Linked DNA regions of Homo sapiens: all the other regions are linked to region 3. Evidence: promoter capture Hi-C in 16 types of primary human blood cells and fetal thymus (Javierre and others, 2016). All regions are on one chromosome and are shown on one strand. The core of a region is centred on a gene start or on the middle of the fragment in contact, and the rest is flanking DNA. Distances in the headings are between cores, read along the strand shown.

Region 1 (4,278 bases), core at 707-3,206, 530 kb before region 3:
TCAGTCTCCTGACAAGCTGGGACTATAAACTTATGTCACCATGCCTGGCTAATTTTTGTATTTTTTTGTAGAGACTGGGTTTGGCAACATTACCCAGGCTAGTCTCAAACTCCTGGGCTCAAGAGGTCCCCTCCCCCCAACTCAGCTTCCCAAAGTGCTGGGATTACAGGTGTGAGTCACTGCGTCCAGGCTAAGTAAAAATATTGATCAATGAGGCCAGGCATGGTAGCTCATGCCTGTAATCCCAGCATTTTAGGAGTCTGAGATGGGGGGAGATCTCTTGAGGCCGAGGATCGCTTGAGCTTGGGAGTTCAAGACCAGTCTGGGCAACATGGCAAAACCCCATCCTACAAAAAAAAAAAAAAACAAAAATTAGTCGGATGATGTGGTGGGGCACGCCTGTAGTCCCAGCTACTTGGGAGGCTGAAGAGGGAATATCCCTTGAGCCTTGGAGGTTGAGGCTACAGTGAGCTGTGATCCCACCACTGCACTCCACTGGGCCACAGAGAAAGAAAAAAAAAAAAAACAAGCTGGGCACAGTGGCTCACGTCTGTAATCCAACCACTTTGGGAGGCTGTGGCGGGCAGATCACTTGAGGTCCGGAGTTTGAGACCAGCCTGGCCAACATGGTGAAAACCCATGTCTACTAAAAATACAAAAATTAGCCAGGCATGGTGGCGCGAGCCTGTAATCCCAGCTACTCAGAAGACTGAGGTGAGAGGAAGTCTTGAACCCGGGAGGCCAGAGGCTGCAGTGAACCGAGGTCACCCAACTGCACAAAACAAAAGACGTCCTGGCGCGGTGGCTCACTCCTGTAATCCCAGCACTTCAGGAGGCCGAGGCGGGTGGATCACTTGAGGTAAGGAGATCGAGACCAGTCTCGTCAATATGGCGAAACCCCGTGTCTACTAAAAATACAAAAATTAGCCGGGCGTGCTGGCGGGCCCCTATAATCCCAGCTACTCGGGAGGCTGAGTTAGGAGAATCGCTTGAATCCGGGAGGCAGAGGTTGCAGTGAGCCGAGATCGCGCCACTGCCCTCCAGCCTGGGCGACAGAGAGAGACTATCTCAAAAAAAAAAAAAAAAAAAAAAAGAATTCCCTAAGCTACTCCACAATGCCCAAACTACGTCTCCTGTCCTATCAAGACACAGCCCCATACCAAACACAAGCAACCTTTTCGGGAGCCTACGGCCGTCCCCCTCCAGCCTCTCCGAGCCTCTCAAGATTCCCATTTGAGATAACTTGCTCCAAAACTCCTCAAAACCCGCATTCTCTCAGACTGGCCCGCCCGTGAGCTCCCACAAGAGTGTAAGCTCCCGTCTGTCCGGTTGGCCAGTCCAGTCTCCCCTGTGTGCAGCACGGAACCAGGTCCCATACCCTCGAATGAATGAACTGCGTCCCTCACCTCACCCTTTCCACGTATCCCCAGCCCCTCTTATCCCCTAACCGCGATCAAACCCCACAATCACCGCTTTCGGGCCTCGGATTTCCTGAGTTTGAATTCTCCCGCTCTCTCAGGACTCCCCAACGCCCCCTTCAGAGCTCCCATCCTTCGGAACGGCCCTCCCAACCACTTCCCAGACCTTCCAGAAACATCCCCAATCAACTCCTCCAGTCCCCCCAAGAGAGAGACGATCCCAGAGCACAGAATTCCCGCCTCCTCCCTTCAAATCACACCTTCCCGCTCCTTCCGGGCCGCAAACGCCTCAGAATAGACGCCCCCTCCAGACCCTAGCGGCCTCAAGCCGCGCCGGCCCTGACCGTTTCTGGGCCTCCAGTCCCCACAGGCGGATCTGCCGGTCATACTGTGCCGCCTCCTCCTCGCTAATGCCGCCGCCAGCCTCCTCCTTCTCCACCATGGCGCCGGCTCTTCCTGCCTCAGCTCCGGTCCCGCTCAAGCCAACCGCCCGCCGGACCCGCGCGCCACCTACCGCCGCCGGCAGCACGCCCGGAGTGCTTCTGCGCATGCGCAGACCCTCCCACGCCTGCGCAGTACCTCGTCCGCGGAGCCTGGGACCAAAAGTACCTCACGAGACTCAAAGGCGATCCGGCGACTGCATGTCACGTGACGGAGGGTCCAACCAATCCTAGCCCCAAAAATGGCGCGGCTTAAGGCCCCGAGGGCGTTGCCCACGTGGTCACTTATGTGGCACTTAAATTCTGCAAATATTTAAGGAGTGCATACTGAGATCCCAGCAATAGGGATGTTGTAAAATAACGGTATTGAGTGAAATCGACAAAGCCCTGTCCTCATGGAGTTTACGATCCAGTGAGAAAAGCCCGAAGAGAAATAAATATAAACCCAGCGATGATAAATGCTTTGGAGAAAAATAAAGCAGGACATGGGGCTACAGAGTAACAGGGGTGGTCAGGGAAGGCTTATCAGAGGTGACATTGAACTGTCAATTTTTTTTTTTTTTTTTCATAGAGATGGGGTCCCTCTGTTGCCTAGGCTGGTCTCCAACTCCTGGCCTCAAGCCATCCTCCCGCCTCTGCCTCCCAAAGTGCTGGGATTACAACCATGAGCCACTGTGCCCAGCCTTTCATGTCCCTACTATGTGTTGCACTTTGTGCCCAGCCCTGGACATACAATAATAATAAAAATGAACACATCTCTGCCTTAGAGGCAGTCACGGCCCAGTGGGAGAGAGGAGCGTTAAGAAAACAGGAATAGGCCAGGCACGGTGACTCGCACCTGTAATCTCAGCACTTCGGAAGGCCAAGGCAGGCAGATTACTTTAAATCAGGAGTTGGAGACCAGCCTGGCTAATGTGGTGAAATCCCGTCTTTAGTAAAAATAAAAAAATTAGCAGGGCATGGTGGCTCACACTTGTAGTCCCAGCTACTTGGAAGGCTGAGGTAGGATAATTGCTTGAATCCGGGAGGCGGAGGTTGTAGTAAGCCAAGATCATGCCTCTGCACTCCAACCTGGGTAACAGAGCAAGACTCTGTAAAAAAAAAAAAAAAAGAAAGAAAGAAAGAAAGGAAGGAAGGAGGGAGGGAAAGAGAGAGGGAAAGGAAGGAAGGAAGGGAAAAAAAAAAAAAACCAGGGATGGCCCCAGGTGGTCAATATAGGGAAACGCTATCTCTATTAAAAATACAAAAATTAGCTTGGTGTGGTGGTACTGAGTCTATAGTCCCAGCTACGTGGGAGGCTGAGGTGGAAGGATTTCTGATGTTAGAATCATAGGCTTTTTGGCAGGGCACAGTGGCTCATGCCTGTAATCCCAGCACTTTGGGACGCCAGGGAGGGCAGATCACGAAGTCAGGAGTTCGAGACCAGCCCGGCCAAGATGGTGAAACCCCCATCTCTACTAATACTAAAAAATTAGCCGGGCGTGGTGGCACACGCCTGTAGTCTCAGCCAATTGGGAGGCTGAGGCCGGAGAATCGCTTGAACCTGGGAGGCAGAGGTTGCAGTGAGCCAAGATCCTGCCACTGCACTCCAGCATGGATGACAGAGACTCCCGTCTAAAAAAAAAAAAAAAAAAGCCACCATGCCCACCTAACTTTTGTATTTTTAGTAGAGACAGGGATTGCACCATGTTGGCCAGGCTGGTCTCGAACTCCTGAACTTGTGATCCACCCGCCTCGGCCTCCCAAAGTGCACGGATTACAGGTGTGAGCCACCATGCCTGGCGGAATCATAGATTTTTATTTAAGAATTGCTTAGGCCGGAGGTGGTGGCTCACGCCTGTAATCCCAGCATTTTGGGAGGCAGAGGTGGGCGGATCACGAGGTCAGGAGTTCGAGATCAGCCTGGCTAACATGGTGAAACCTTGTCTCTACTAAAACTACAAAAAATTAGCCGGGCGTGGTGGCAGGCGCATGTAGTCCCAGCTACTGAGGAGGCTGAGGCAAGAGAATAGCATGAACCTGGGAGATGGAGCTTGCAGTGAGCCGAGTTCGCGCCACTGCACTCCAGCCTGGGCAACAGAGCAAGACTCCGTCTCAGAAAAAAATAAATAAATAAATAAATAAATAAATAATAAGAATTGCTTAGCGCCCGGCATGGTGGCTCATGCCTGTAATCCATGCGCTTTAGGAGACTGAGATAGGAAAATCACTTGAAGTCAGGAGTTCATGACCAGCCTGGGCAACATGACAAGACCCCTGTCTCTACAAAAAAAAAAATTTTTTAATTAGCTGGGTGTGGTGGTGCGTGCCTGTAATCCCAGCTACTTGGGAGGCTAAGGTGGAAGGATCCTTTGAGCCCAGGCGTTAGAGGCTGCAATGAGCTATGATGGCACCACTGCACTCCAGCCTGGACAACAGAC
Region 2 (3,749 bases), core at 609-3,108, 810 kb after region 3:
ACATGTAATCCCAGCACTTAGGGAGGCCAAGGTTGGCGGATCACCTGAGGTCAGGAGTTTGAGACCAGCATGCCCAACATGGTGAAACCCCGTCTCTACTAAAACTACAAAAAAGTAGCTGGGTGTGGTGGCAGGTGCCTGTAATCCCAGCCACTCAGGAGGCTAAGGCAGGAGAATCACTTGAACCCAGGAGGCAGAGGTTGCAGTGAGCCAAAATCGTCCCATTGCACTCCAGCCCACGTGACAAGAGCGAGACTCTGTCTCAAAAAAAAAAAAAAAAAAAAAAAAAGCCGGGTGCAGTGGCTCATGCCTGTACTCCCAGCACTTTGGGAGGCCGAGGTGGGTGGATCACCTGAGGTCAGGAGTTCGAGACCAGACTGGCCAACATGGTGAAACCCCGTCTCTGAGCCGAGATGGAGCCATTGCACTCCAGCCTGGGTGACAGGGTGAGACTGTCTCAAAAAAAACAAAAACAAAAACAAAATAAAACCTCTCTACATGCCAAGTGAAAGGTGGAAGTGGGGGTGAGACAGAAATCTGGGAGACCAAGAGACACGGTTGATGTGGGGGTGGGGGAAGGGCTTGGGTAGAGGAGAAGCTTGGATCAGGGAGAACAAGGAACTGAGAAAGAGGAATTCCACGTGGTCGAATGCAAAAGACTTGGAGGCTGTAAGCGGGGGCAGAGTGAAGATAAATGGTACACATCTAGGAAGACACCCAGGTCTGTGGCCTGGTTGACTGAGTGGACGGCAGAGCTAGCCCTAAGGTGGGGATGCAAGAGAGGTGGAGGATTTGGTGTAAGACGTCAATTTCATTGTAGGATTCTTTTTTCTTTCTTTTTTTTTTTTTTTTAGAGAGACTGAGTCTGACTCTGTCCCCCAGGCTTTAGTGCAGTGATGTGAATTCATAGCAGTCTTGATCTCCTGGGCTCAAACGATCCTCCCACCTCAGCCTCCCAAAGTGCTGGGATTCTCGGATTCCAGGCATGAGCCACCATGCCCGAACCATTGTAGGATTTTTTTTTTTAAGTGTGAGATGCCCTTGGGACACTCTAGGGAGAAATCGTAGAGGCCATTGACTACATGAGACTAGAAAGATCTATGATGGGGCTGGGTGGCTTCAGCAGACATGGGGAGCACTGGCTATGAGTAGGAGCTGTTGGGATCAGGGGGAGACTTTGGGTTACGAGTGGATCACTGGGACACTGGGGCACCGTGGGGATCAATACAATTTGGGAATCAGAGGTAGGTTTTGGAGGACAAGTGAGGTTGTTGAAAATAAGAAAATCATGGAAATATACATTGGAGGTTGGTGGAAAATATGAAGGATGTTTGGAGTTAGCATTAATCAATAGTGGGTCAGAGGAAGTCCTCTGAGTTGTGTGGGGACACAGGGATTTGGTGGGTCACCAAGGGTGGGGAAGAATGGTAGCAGATGCTGTGGTCATTCAGGGATTTGAATATGTCAGTGGGAAACACTGGAGGTCAGGGGAGTGTATATTGGGCGTCTAAGGAGAGACCAGGGTCACTTGGGGTTGGCTGTGACTTCATGGGAAGGCTGGACTATGGATGAGGGCTTCTTTGTCGTGGGGGAAAAAAAAAAAAAAATCCCTCCGTTGCTAGGCAAACGTTCCCAGGGCGCGGTTGCTAAGGACTTGAGCTTTCTAACTGGCCACGCCTCTTTCCATTGCGGGCTCCGCCCCCGCAGCCAACCACAAGTCGGTCACAGGCTCAAAGGCCGCGCCCACCTTCTCGCCCCGCCCACAGTCCCAGCACCGTTACCCGAGCGACCGCGGGGATTCGTCCCGCCTCCGGATCTGGGTGCCAATCGAAGAGGCGTTGCCCGGGCGACGACCCCACCTTTTCCGGCGCGGGCCAGCGGCTTCCGGGAGGGGGCCCGGCTGCGGGCGGCAGTCCGGCAGTGGCGGGGCCCGGGGGGCGCCCAAGATGGCGGCGGGCGGCGCGGAGGGCGGCTCGGGCCCCGGCGCCGCCATGGGGGACTGCGCGGAGATTAAGTCGCAATTCCGCACGCGCGAGGGTTTCTACAAGCTACTCCCGGGCGACGGCGCCGCTCGCAGGTCGGGTCCGGCTTCCGCCCAGACTCCGGTGCCGCCTCAGCCACCGCAGCCCCCGCCCGGCCCTGCCTCCGCCTCCGGTCCCGGCGCTGCAGGCCCCGCGTCGTCCCCGCCGCCCGCAGGCCCCGGACCCGGGCCCGCCCTGCCCGCCGTGCGCCTCAGCCTCGTGCGCCTCGGGGAGCCGGACAGCGCCGGGGCCGGGGAGCCGCCCGCCACGCCCGCGGGGCTGGGCTCGGGGGGAGACCGCGTCTGCTTCAACTTGGGCCGTGAGCTCTATTTCTACCCAGGCTGCTGTCGTCGTGGGAGCCAACGGGTGAGCGGCCTGCATCGTGGGGCCCTGGGTGCTGAAAGGATGGAGGTTCCAGAGAACTGATAGGAGGGTCCCCGAATTGATATGGGGCCCTGAGATAGGCATTCTAAATGTGATGGACGTTGTAGGGCGACAGCATTGGAGGGAGTACAGGATTCTGAAATGTGATGAGAGGCCCGCGGGGTGCTGGGCAGGCATCTTGGAGGTGATGGGGGAAATCCCCTTTACCCCCGTTATGCGTAGGAGTTCTGGGATGGTGACTATTGGACATGATGGGGTATCTGAGATGAGGTGGGATCCCCCGGGTTCTGGGGTGGCAGGCATTCTGCAGGTAATGGGGAATCATGAGGTGATGCAAGCCCAGAGGTGATGGAGAACCCAGTATTGCAGCCTGGAGGTGTGGGAGAGGGGTCTTGAGATTGAGCCCAGGAATGAGGAGAAGTCTAGAAGTGATGGGGGCCTTGAAGGTGATAGGGGATCCAGAAGCTGAATGGGATTCTAGAGAAAATTGGGGTCTGGAAGTCATGAGGGTCCTGGAGGAGATGAGCGTCCGGAAGCTGATGGGAGCTCTCAAGGGAATGAGAGGCCCTGGCAGGGGAATCTGCAGGTGTGATTCAGGACATCTCTAAAGCGATGTGGTGAGAACCCTGGCCGTTTATGGTGATCCCAGAAATGATGGGGATCCTTCGGAGCCCCTAGGTAATAAATGGGCCTAAAATGTGGGAGACCGTGAGGTTTGACGGGTCCCAGAACTGTGGCGGTTTAGGGACTACAAAGTGAAGAGAATGCTAGGATGTTAGGCTTTAGAGTCCTGGAAATTTGGGTGACCTCAAGGTTTGGGGGTCTTGGAATAGTGTGGTACTAGGTCCCAAGGGAGTTGCTGAGGTTATAGGATGGAGTGGTGAGGCTAAAAGGAATCGGAGCTTAGGAACTGTGTGGACCCAGAACCCTGATTATGTGGACAAGGGTGTCTCTGAATTAGAGGTGACCCAACTTTGGGGAGGCACTGTGGTCAAGGGGGATCCTTACCATCTTTTTTGCTACTCTTGTCTGTGATTTGGGTCCCCTTCCCGTCTGTGGTTGCCCCGTCCTTCGCAATCCACCTACTCACCTCCCCACTTCCCTCTGGGTTCTAACCCTGCTTCCTCTTAGTGGTTTCCCCCAACCTCAACATCCTCTTCCTTCTCCTCAGTGGCATACACCATTAACTCCTTTTCTCCCACCCCTCAAGTCCATTGACCTCAACAAGCCAATTGACAAGCGGATCTACAAGGGCACCCAGCCCACCTGCCACGATTTCAACCAGTTCACTGCTGCCACCGAGACCATCTCGCTGCTGGTGGGCTTCTCAGCGGGTCAAGTGCA
Region 3 (3,924 bases), core at 344-2,843:
AGGGCACGGGAATAGGCATCTGATTGTCACTGACGCCACACTGTACTGCACTGTCATTTGGCACAAGTGACGAGGTGCAGCATGGTGCGTGGGGCTGGGGATCATGAGAAAACCGGCGCTCCTGCTGGGAAAAGGCAGTGCTCTTGGCCTGAAAAGGGCAGCGACAGAGTGAGGCTTCTAGGCTTGAAAAAGCTGGCTCATTCGAGGCACCCCAAACTTTGATCTCCCATCCCCATTTCATGAGGCTTCAGTGCGCAATAGGGGCCCGAACAGCTCCGCCCACCTGCTCCCACTGCCCCGGTGTCTTCCACCCAGCCGCGTTCTTCCTGAGGAAGGAGGACGGTAGAAAAGCTTCCTCCGGGCCCTGCAGCCCACTCCCCATCCACACTGAGCCGTCTTTGTCCTGGCCTGTCCCTGGAGACTGGCAGGGTGCTACCCACATCCACCCCCAAACCTAGGCCCCCCTGACTGCCATTCATTTTCTCCTTCCACCTCACCTCCCAACCACCCAAGCCCAAGTCCTCCCCCACCCCTCACCTTGGAAATCCATCTTCTCTTGGACCCAAACACAACACTCCCACCCCGTTAAAAAAATTCTGTCTTTCTAGAGCAACAGTCTTAACCCACTAGTAACCTCGGAACCTTTTCTAGCTACTTCCAAATTAACCCCAAGGGTCCCTGTCCCCCGACTACTGGCGAGCCCCACTCTCACCATCCCTTTTCACCACCTCCACGACCCTGATCCTTCTCCGTCCCGGAAGCCTTCAAGAGTATCTTCTAATCTCCGCTGCCACCCACCCCAGGCTCTTCCTCCCATAAGCTTGCACCTCACCCTCCTCCTCCTCTGCAGTGCTGGGCTCTGGAGACCACCCTCCCCCACCCTCCCCCACCCTCGGGAGTCTCATCTGTAGAAGTGACCGCCCATCCTTGACCCTCTCCTCTGCTCCACAGGAGCCCAGGGGTCGCCCCTCCCCGCCCGGGCCCAGCTACCCTCCACCACCCCATCCAGGAGCAGCCCAGCCTCCCTTCGTCCCCCGTTCCCCGCATCCTCTCAGGACCAAACGCCTTCATCAGGGCCCGAATAGCTCCCCTCCCCAGCCCATCTTTCTTATTTCGTCCCCTGGGGTCCAAACACCTCCATCCTGAAACCCAACGCCCCATCCTGGGTCCAAAATCCTTTTGAGGGGTCCCACTGAGGGTCCCGATCCTCCATCCGGGGTTCAAATGTCCCCTTTAGGGGCTCAGATACCCATTTGTGGACTTAAACATCCCATTTGGTGCTAAAGTCGCTTCTGGAAACCTCTGGTGATCCAGACGTCCCGCTCTGGGTTCAACAGCCCCCGACAACGCGGGTAGAAAAGGGTCCCGAGGCTCTCGCCGGGCCCGGACGCCCCCCACTCTGGGCTCTGTCGCCCCCTCAGGGGTCCTGCCCCGTTAAGCCCGCCTCAGAGCCCGCAGCCTCGGCGACCCCCCAGCCTCACTCACCATGGCGAGGCCCGGGGTGTCCGGAGCACGGGGATCAAGGTTCCTCCGGCGGCGGCAGCAGCTGCAGCAGTTCCAGCTCCGCCGCGCGTCCGCGCCTCCACACTCACTGCCCGCAGCGCGCGCCGCCGCCGCCGCCGCCTCCCGCCCCAACGGTCCCTCAACGGCCGCCGCGCGCGCCCCGCCTCGCTCGGCCCCGCCCCACCCGGCCCGCGCGCCGCCGCACTGCGGCTCCCACGGATCCCTCCGCGCCCCGCTCCACACCTACGGGCCCGCGAATCTCTCGTCCCCACCCTGCACAGGAATTGGGTTTGCCGCCGGGCGCGCGCGCGCTCGCTCCCGTCGCCGGACTACTTTCCCTCGCCGCGCGCCCCGCCTCCCGGGCCCACTTCACTTTCTTCGGCGGAGGGGCACAGCTCGGCGGTGCGTGACGCGTCCCTCTGTGAGCCGCGTCACTATTGGGCCTGGCCCATGGCGGAAATGAGAGCTTGGCGCCCATTGGTCCGACCTTCCCTGCAATGCGTCAAACTGGGGCGAGCCACTGCAAGGTGGTGGTGGGTAAGTCTGAACTCTGTGGCCGCGTGGGGCTTTGAGGAGTAACGAGGCGAAGGGGGAAACGGCGTCGCCGTTAGAGAAGCAAATACGTCGTTTCTGTGGCCAGGAGGTGGTAAAAAGGCTGGCGACAAATGCAGAAGGGCTTTCTCGGCTCTCCCCTTTAACCGACGGACGATGGTTCAATCCAAAATGCTAGGGTTTAGAAGCTCCGCCCCTAACTGGGCCTTTGGAGGTGGCGGGGTCTCCAAGGTGCCACCTAACGCTCAGAGGTTCCGCCCTCCGTGGTCTTGTCTCTGCGTCCTAAGACGCACTCAGCCGGTGGGCGGGACCCCTGGGCCCGCTTCATTCTTGATCCGCTCAGGGTCTGTGAAATTAGGACCATCCCAGGACAGCCTGTGGGAACGGGGTATTCATTCAGTCATTCGTGCTATAAGCATCAATTAGGCGCCTGCTGTATGCAGGGACCTGAGCTTGGCTGGGCTGGGGAGACCATACTCCCCAACCAGCCTCTCCAGACAGACGACCTCTTTCCTTATTCCAGTGTTCCAGCCATAGGAGGAAAAAGAACTGAAACTTTGTTTATAGGAGCTCAGAAAATGATCACCCCTGCCCCCTCCCCCGTTTAGGATAGGAGCTGACAGTCTCCTGCGTGTCCCCTCCCCACCATGTTGATGGTTAAGAGATGGGCAAACGAGTCAGGCTGGACCAATCATTATGCTCCACCTGGAACAGAATGGAGACTGAACCAATGAGAGTCCTTCCCTGGGGTTTGGATCTGCAGCCTGGGCACAAGAAGCCTTTTCCTTTTGGGTGGGTCCTTCCCATAGATTCTGACTATGGTCATTTTCCCACTCTGCCCCCTATCTTGAGGAACAAAGTGTCTAGAGAAGAAGAGAAAAATAAAACTGACACAGTGGAGAGGTAAAGAAGATGGCCGGGCGCGGTGGCTCATGCCTTTAATCCTAACACTTGTTACTCAGTCTCAAATCTCATGTTAAAATGTGATCACCAATGTTGGAGGTGGGGCCTGGTGGGAGGTGTTTGGGTCATAGGGGTGGATCCCTCATGAATGACTTGGTGCTGTCCTCACGGTAACAAGTGAGTTCTTATTCTGTTAGTTCACACAAGATCTGTATTTTTTTTGAGACGGAGTCTTGCTCTGTCACATAGGCTAGAGTGCAGTGGCATGATCTTGGCTCACTACAACCTCCGCCTCCCAGGTTTAAGCGATTCTCCTGCCTCAGCCTCCCAAGTAGTTGGGACTACAGGCACCCACCACTACACTTGGCTAATTTTTGTATTTTTAGTAAAGACAGGGTTTCACCATGTTGGCCAGGCTGGTCTCAAACTCTTGAGCTCAAGTGATCCGCCTGCCTTGGCCTCCCAAAGTGCTGTAATCACAAGAATACAACCATCAGGAGTGCCTCAAGGGAGAAATATCCTCTGAGAATAGCCACAGACAAAGTGGGGAGGTGGGACTACCATCCCCAGCCCTGGAAACTCTCTCTACTCTATAACTTGGCCAAAGGAGATGCCAAATCAGAGTGGCTGTTCGTTAGCACCATGCTGTGGGAGGTTTCTTCCATAGCTCCCCTGGGAATGAACCCCTAGCCAGCTTTCCTATGCTACTGGGATATCCCCTTTGGGACCTCCCCCATTCGGGATGGGAGACGCTCTGATCTTTAATAGAGCCAAGGCAAACCTGGTTTTAAGGTGCCACTGAGTGCTAAAAAGGAGGCAGCAACCTAGCAGAAAAAAAGAAACCAACAGGTCAATTACGAAGAATCTGTAAGCAAATGGAGCCAGTAAAAGCCAAAACAAGCCAGACGGAGAAGGCTGGAATAAGTGACTAATCCTTCAGTGCAAAGGCATAGATGTACATTAACA
Region 4 (3,873 bases), core at 964-3,463, 740 kb after region 3:
CCAGGGAAGCCTTGTCTGAGGTGAGACTGGATGGGAATTTTAGCAATAGCTGGAGGTTGCTGGACTGGCGGGGAGCAGGGGAAGGTGCACAATCTAAAACTCTCCATCTTCCGACTTGGGGAGTCCCTGCGGAGGGTCATGGGTAGGGATGGGGGGGTGGAGATCGGCCCCTCTCCTGCCAATGCTGATGGCTACATCTTCTGCTCCCAGATGCCCAACTCTAAGCCACCTGTTATTTCAGACTCCAAAAACGAAGCTTCATCTCTGAGCACCCCCATCTCTGACCCCTGAGCACCAATCCCTATGTCTGACCCTACCTTAGATTACCAGCTGATCCTTAGCCCCGAACCCCGGTTCTTTAACACTGTGTGCTGGCCCTGAGCTCCCACCTCAGTCTTCCCCTTAATGGTGACTCCTCCTCCATCTTTTAGTCTTTCTTTCCCTCCAACTTTGAACCTCACATCCTGAAACCCCCTAGTCTGTCCCCTACCCTGGAACTCTGATTCCTATCTTTGGTTTGTACATATAAATCCCTTGCTTTTTGGGGCTCCAACACCCGGCTCCCAAGTTTAAGGTGTGACCCGACCCTTGGCTAAATTTTCCTGACTTCCATTTTTAAGCCCTGGCCGCGGCGAGGCTGCCCAAACAGCGCTCCCATCCATGCCTCGTCCCCGGTCCCCGACTTCCACACCTGGTCTCCGTGTTCCCAGTTCCTCAGCTGCCCAAGTAGACGCCTTTGCCTCCATTTGAACCCACAACCAGTCCCTGCTCCATGTGAGCCCACACCCCGATACCTGCCCCCAACTTCCCGCTCCGCCATCCCCGAGGACACACCTCGCCCGCCTCCGGGTAGTAGCTCCACTCGGCCAGGTCATGGGCCTCCATCTTCACTGAGCCCAGCATCCCCCGGGCTTACGCCCCCACCCGCCCCCGCTCCGGCCCCGGGGGAACGGAGCGCTCTGGATCTCTCAGCGGGCACGGCCCGAGCTCCCACCGGCGCCCGCCCGTCCGACCGCCCGGGGTACGGCTGTCCCGAGCGCCGCGGGAGGCGGCCACGCTTTATAGCCGGGACACCCCCGCCCTCGCCCGCCCCGGGCTCCCCTCCCGCCTCCCCGAGGGCGGCGCGCTCGGACTGGGGCGCCCCCTGCGGGATCGCCAGGAGACAGACCTCAGGCGCCGGGGGCCGCAGCCCCAGGACGCGACAGCTGGGGGTGATTCAGGAGTGAGGGAGCTGCCCGCAGCGACGCTGCAGATACCAAGGGCCCCGAGGTCAGAACTCTGGAGCCTTTCTACCTCAGGGGGCTTCATCATCTCGGCAGGAGAGGACGAAGAGCCAGAGCCCTGCATGACCGTGGCGGAAGAAAGGGGAATCAGAACGCTAGGGCCACTATGCGACTACAAGGACCCGTAAAAGGTCCCCGAAATCACATCCCCATTGGACAGACAGGAAGACTGAGGCTTCCGACGGCTAGAAATGCTTAACTTGGCCGGGCGCGGTGGCTCACGCCTGTAATTCCAGCACTGCAGGAGGCCGAGGCGGGCGGACGAATCACTTGAGGTCAGGAGTTTGAGACCAGCCTGGCCAACAGGGTGAAACCCCATCTCTATTAAAAATACAACAACTAGCTAGGCGTGATGGTGCGTGCCTGTTATCCCAGCTATTCGGGAGGCTGAGGCAGGAGAATCGTTTGAACCTAGGAAGCGGAGGTTGCAGTGAGCCGAGATCGCGCCACTGCAGTCCAGCCTGGGAGAGAGAGCGGGACTCCGTTTCCAAAAAAAAAGAAAGAAAGAAAAGAAAAGAAAAAGAAATGCTTCAGACTGTTGAAAGGGTCAAGAACAAAGATGGAGGGGATCGGGGCCTCTCCGCAGACCCCACTAGGGCAACAGACCACCTCCCCTCCAAGACCCAGGAGCTTCGCTGCCCGAACTCCGCACTCTCCAAGACCAGCCAGCCGTCCAGGGACTCAGCACCACTGAGAACTCCATTTCCCAGAATGCTCTAGCTCCCTTTCCGCCCGGTGCCTCCGAAGGGACTACATTTCCCAGAAGGCCTAGCCGGACCCAGAGCCGGAAATGAAGGGTCTGCTCGCCGTAGTATGGAGGCGGGCAGAATGCCGCTCGCACGGGACGAGGCATGGGCGGGGTCGGGCTGTGCTCTGGACTCCATTTCCCGGCGGCCCTGGGTGTGTGGCGCGTGCGCACCGTTCCCGGCGACGAACGGAAGATGGCGGCGGCGGCGGCGGCGGAGTGTAGGAAGAGGCACTGCTGAGGGGGCGCGAGGGGAACGGAGGCCAGAGCTGCGGTGAGCGGGAGGCGGCGTTTGGGCCCGGAGACGAAAGGAGGAGGCTCCTAAAGAAGCAGGGGCTCGGGCGGGGAGGGCATCGCCGTGGGGAGAGGGGAACAGTGGCTTTCGCGACCCATGTTTCTTCCCTTGCTCAGGACCCTTCCTTGGCTCCCTAGTGCCCTCGAGGCAAAGTTCCAACGTGGCCCCCCGGGCGCCACCGCCCCGCAGACCTCGCTTGCTTCGACTCGGCCTCTTTGCTTTTTCCCCCACCTCTAACAGCCGCCCTGGCCTTTCGGTTCCTTAAACTTGCCATGCGCTTTCCCGCTTCGGGGATTTTGCACAGGCTGTCCCTTCTGCCTGCAACATCCTTTTACCCATTCGGCTTGGCTAACTCCCATTTCATCCTTCGGGTCTCGGCACCAACGTCACTTCCTCTGCGAAGCCCTCCTTCCCTGCCCTCCATCCAGAAATCCGCCTGTTAAATGCTTTTGTCGGTCCGTGTTCCTTCATGTCACGTGTGGTCTAATTTGTTATCCGACTCTTATCTGTGTGCTGTTTTATGATGTCTATGACCGTGTGTTCCATGAAGGTAGGGACTAGGTTTGTCTCTGTCGCCACTGTGTTCTCAGCACAGCGCCAATCACGCCGGAGACGCCCAGCTAATGTTCGTTGAAGGAATAAAAGATACTCCTAGAGCCAGTTTGGGGAAACAGGGTAGTCATCAGATTCCTAGGTAGCAGTGGGGCAGGGTACCACTTCTTAACGAGTACATCGAGAGGGAAGGGGAAACAGTGATACTGTTCATCATAGCAAAAGGCTACACGCATCCCAAATGTTCTTAAATAAGAAGATTGGCTGAAAGAAACTATAATACATCCACATAAAAAATACTATGCAACTCTAAAAAGGAATGAGGTAGATAAAAGGAAATGATGAAAATCTCTATACACTGATATAGTGGCCTCCAACATATATTAAGGGAAAACAAGTGAAGTGGAGGTTGGTGTTTATTGTATATGCTTTTTCTTTTTTTTTTTTTTTGAGACAGGGTCTCACTCTGTCGCCCAGGCTGGCACGATCCCAGTTCACTGCAACCTCCACCTCCCTGGTTCAAGTGATTCTCCCACCCCAGCCTCTCGAGTAGCTGGGATTACAAACGTGCCCCACCACACCCAGGTAATTTTTATATTTTTAGTAGAGACGGGGTTTCTCTGTGTTGGCCAGGCTGGTCTTGAACTCCTGACCTCAAGTGATCTGCCCACCTCAGCCTTCCAAAGTGCAGGGATTACAGGCCTGAGCCACCAAACTCGGCCTGTGTAGGCTCCTTTTTTTTTTTTTTGAGACAGAGTCTCACTCTGTCACCCAGGCTGGAGTGCAGTGGCGTGATCTCGGCTCACTGCAACCTCTGCCTTCCAGGTTCAAGCAATTCGCCTGCCTCAGCCTCCCAGGTAGCTGGGATTACAGGCACACCACCACGCCTGGCTAATTTTTGTATTTTTAGTAGAGATGGGGTTTCACCATGTTGGTCAGGCTGGTCTTGAACTCCTGACCTCGTGATCCACCTGCCTCCGCCTCCCGAAGTGCTGGGA

What was found. Contacts are between HindIII fragments. The CHiCAGO score rates a contact against its expected background, and 5 or more counts as called.
Region 1: the fragment with the promoter of SAE1 here is called in contact with the fragment with the promoter of CALM3 in region 3 in 7 of 17 cell types (activated CD4 T cells, total CD4 T cells, neutrophils and 4 more); the score reaches 6.7 in activated CD4 T cells.
Region 2: a contact is called between the fragment with the promoter of DMWD here and the fragment with the promoter of CALM3 in region 3, in 1 of 17 cell types (erythroblasts). The highest score is 6.4, in erythroblasts.
Region 4: a contact is called between the fragment with the promoter of SYMPK here and the fragment with the promoter of CALM3 in region 3, in 1 of 17 cell types (neutrophils). The highest score is 5.1, in neutrophils.

What each region holds. Positions count from the first base shown.
Region 1 is chr19:47,128,513-47,132,790 of GRCh38, reverse strand. It overlaps SAE1 (SUMO1 activating enzyme subunit 1), which reads right to left and starts at 1,956. Exons shown (of 9, transcript NM_005500.3): 1 at 1,763-1,956. The coding sequence starts at 1,860. RefSeq lists enhancers at 1,636-1,875, 1,568-2,182. The HindIII fragment of the contact is 6,112 bases long and covers 1-4,278 here.
Region 2 is chr19:45,790,954-45,794,702 of GRCh38, reverse strand. It overlaps DMWD (DM1 locus, WD repeat containing), which reads left to right and starts at 1,858. Exons shown (of 5, transcript NM_004943.2): 1 at 1,858-2,387; 2 at 3,616-3,749. The coding sequence starts at 1,947. RefSeq lists a silencer at 1,730-2,209 and enhancers at 3,358-3,407, 3,428-3,487. The HindIII fragment of the contact is 5,053 bases long and covers 601-3,749 here.
Region 3 is chr19:46,598,999-46,602,922 of GRCh38, reverse strand. It overlaps CALM3 (calmodulin 3), which reads right to left and starts at 1,593. Exons shown (of 6, transcript NM_005184.4): 1 at 1,486-1,593. The coding sequence starts at 1,488. It also overlaps the pseudogene PPP5D1P. RefSeq lists enhancers at 31-100, 1,829-2,328 and a silencer at 1,559-1,698. The HindIII fragment of the contact is 6,234 bases long and covers 823-3,924 here.
Region 4 is chr19:45,861,487-45,865,359 of GRCh38, reverse strand. SYMPK (symplekin scaffold protein) reads left to right here and starts at 2,213. Exons shown (of 27, transcript NM_004819.3): 1 at 2,213-2,302. It overlaps FOXA3 (forkhead box A3), which reads right to left and starts at 1,034. Exons shown (of 2, transcript NM_004497.3): 1 at 835-1,034. The coding sequence starts at 903. RefSeq lists a silencer at 839-1,248 and enhancers at 1,889-2,298, 2,550-3,188. The HindIII fragment of the contact is 14,624 bases long and covers 259-3,873 here.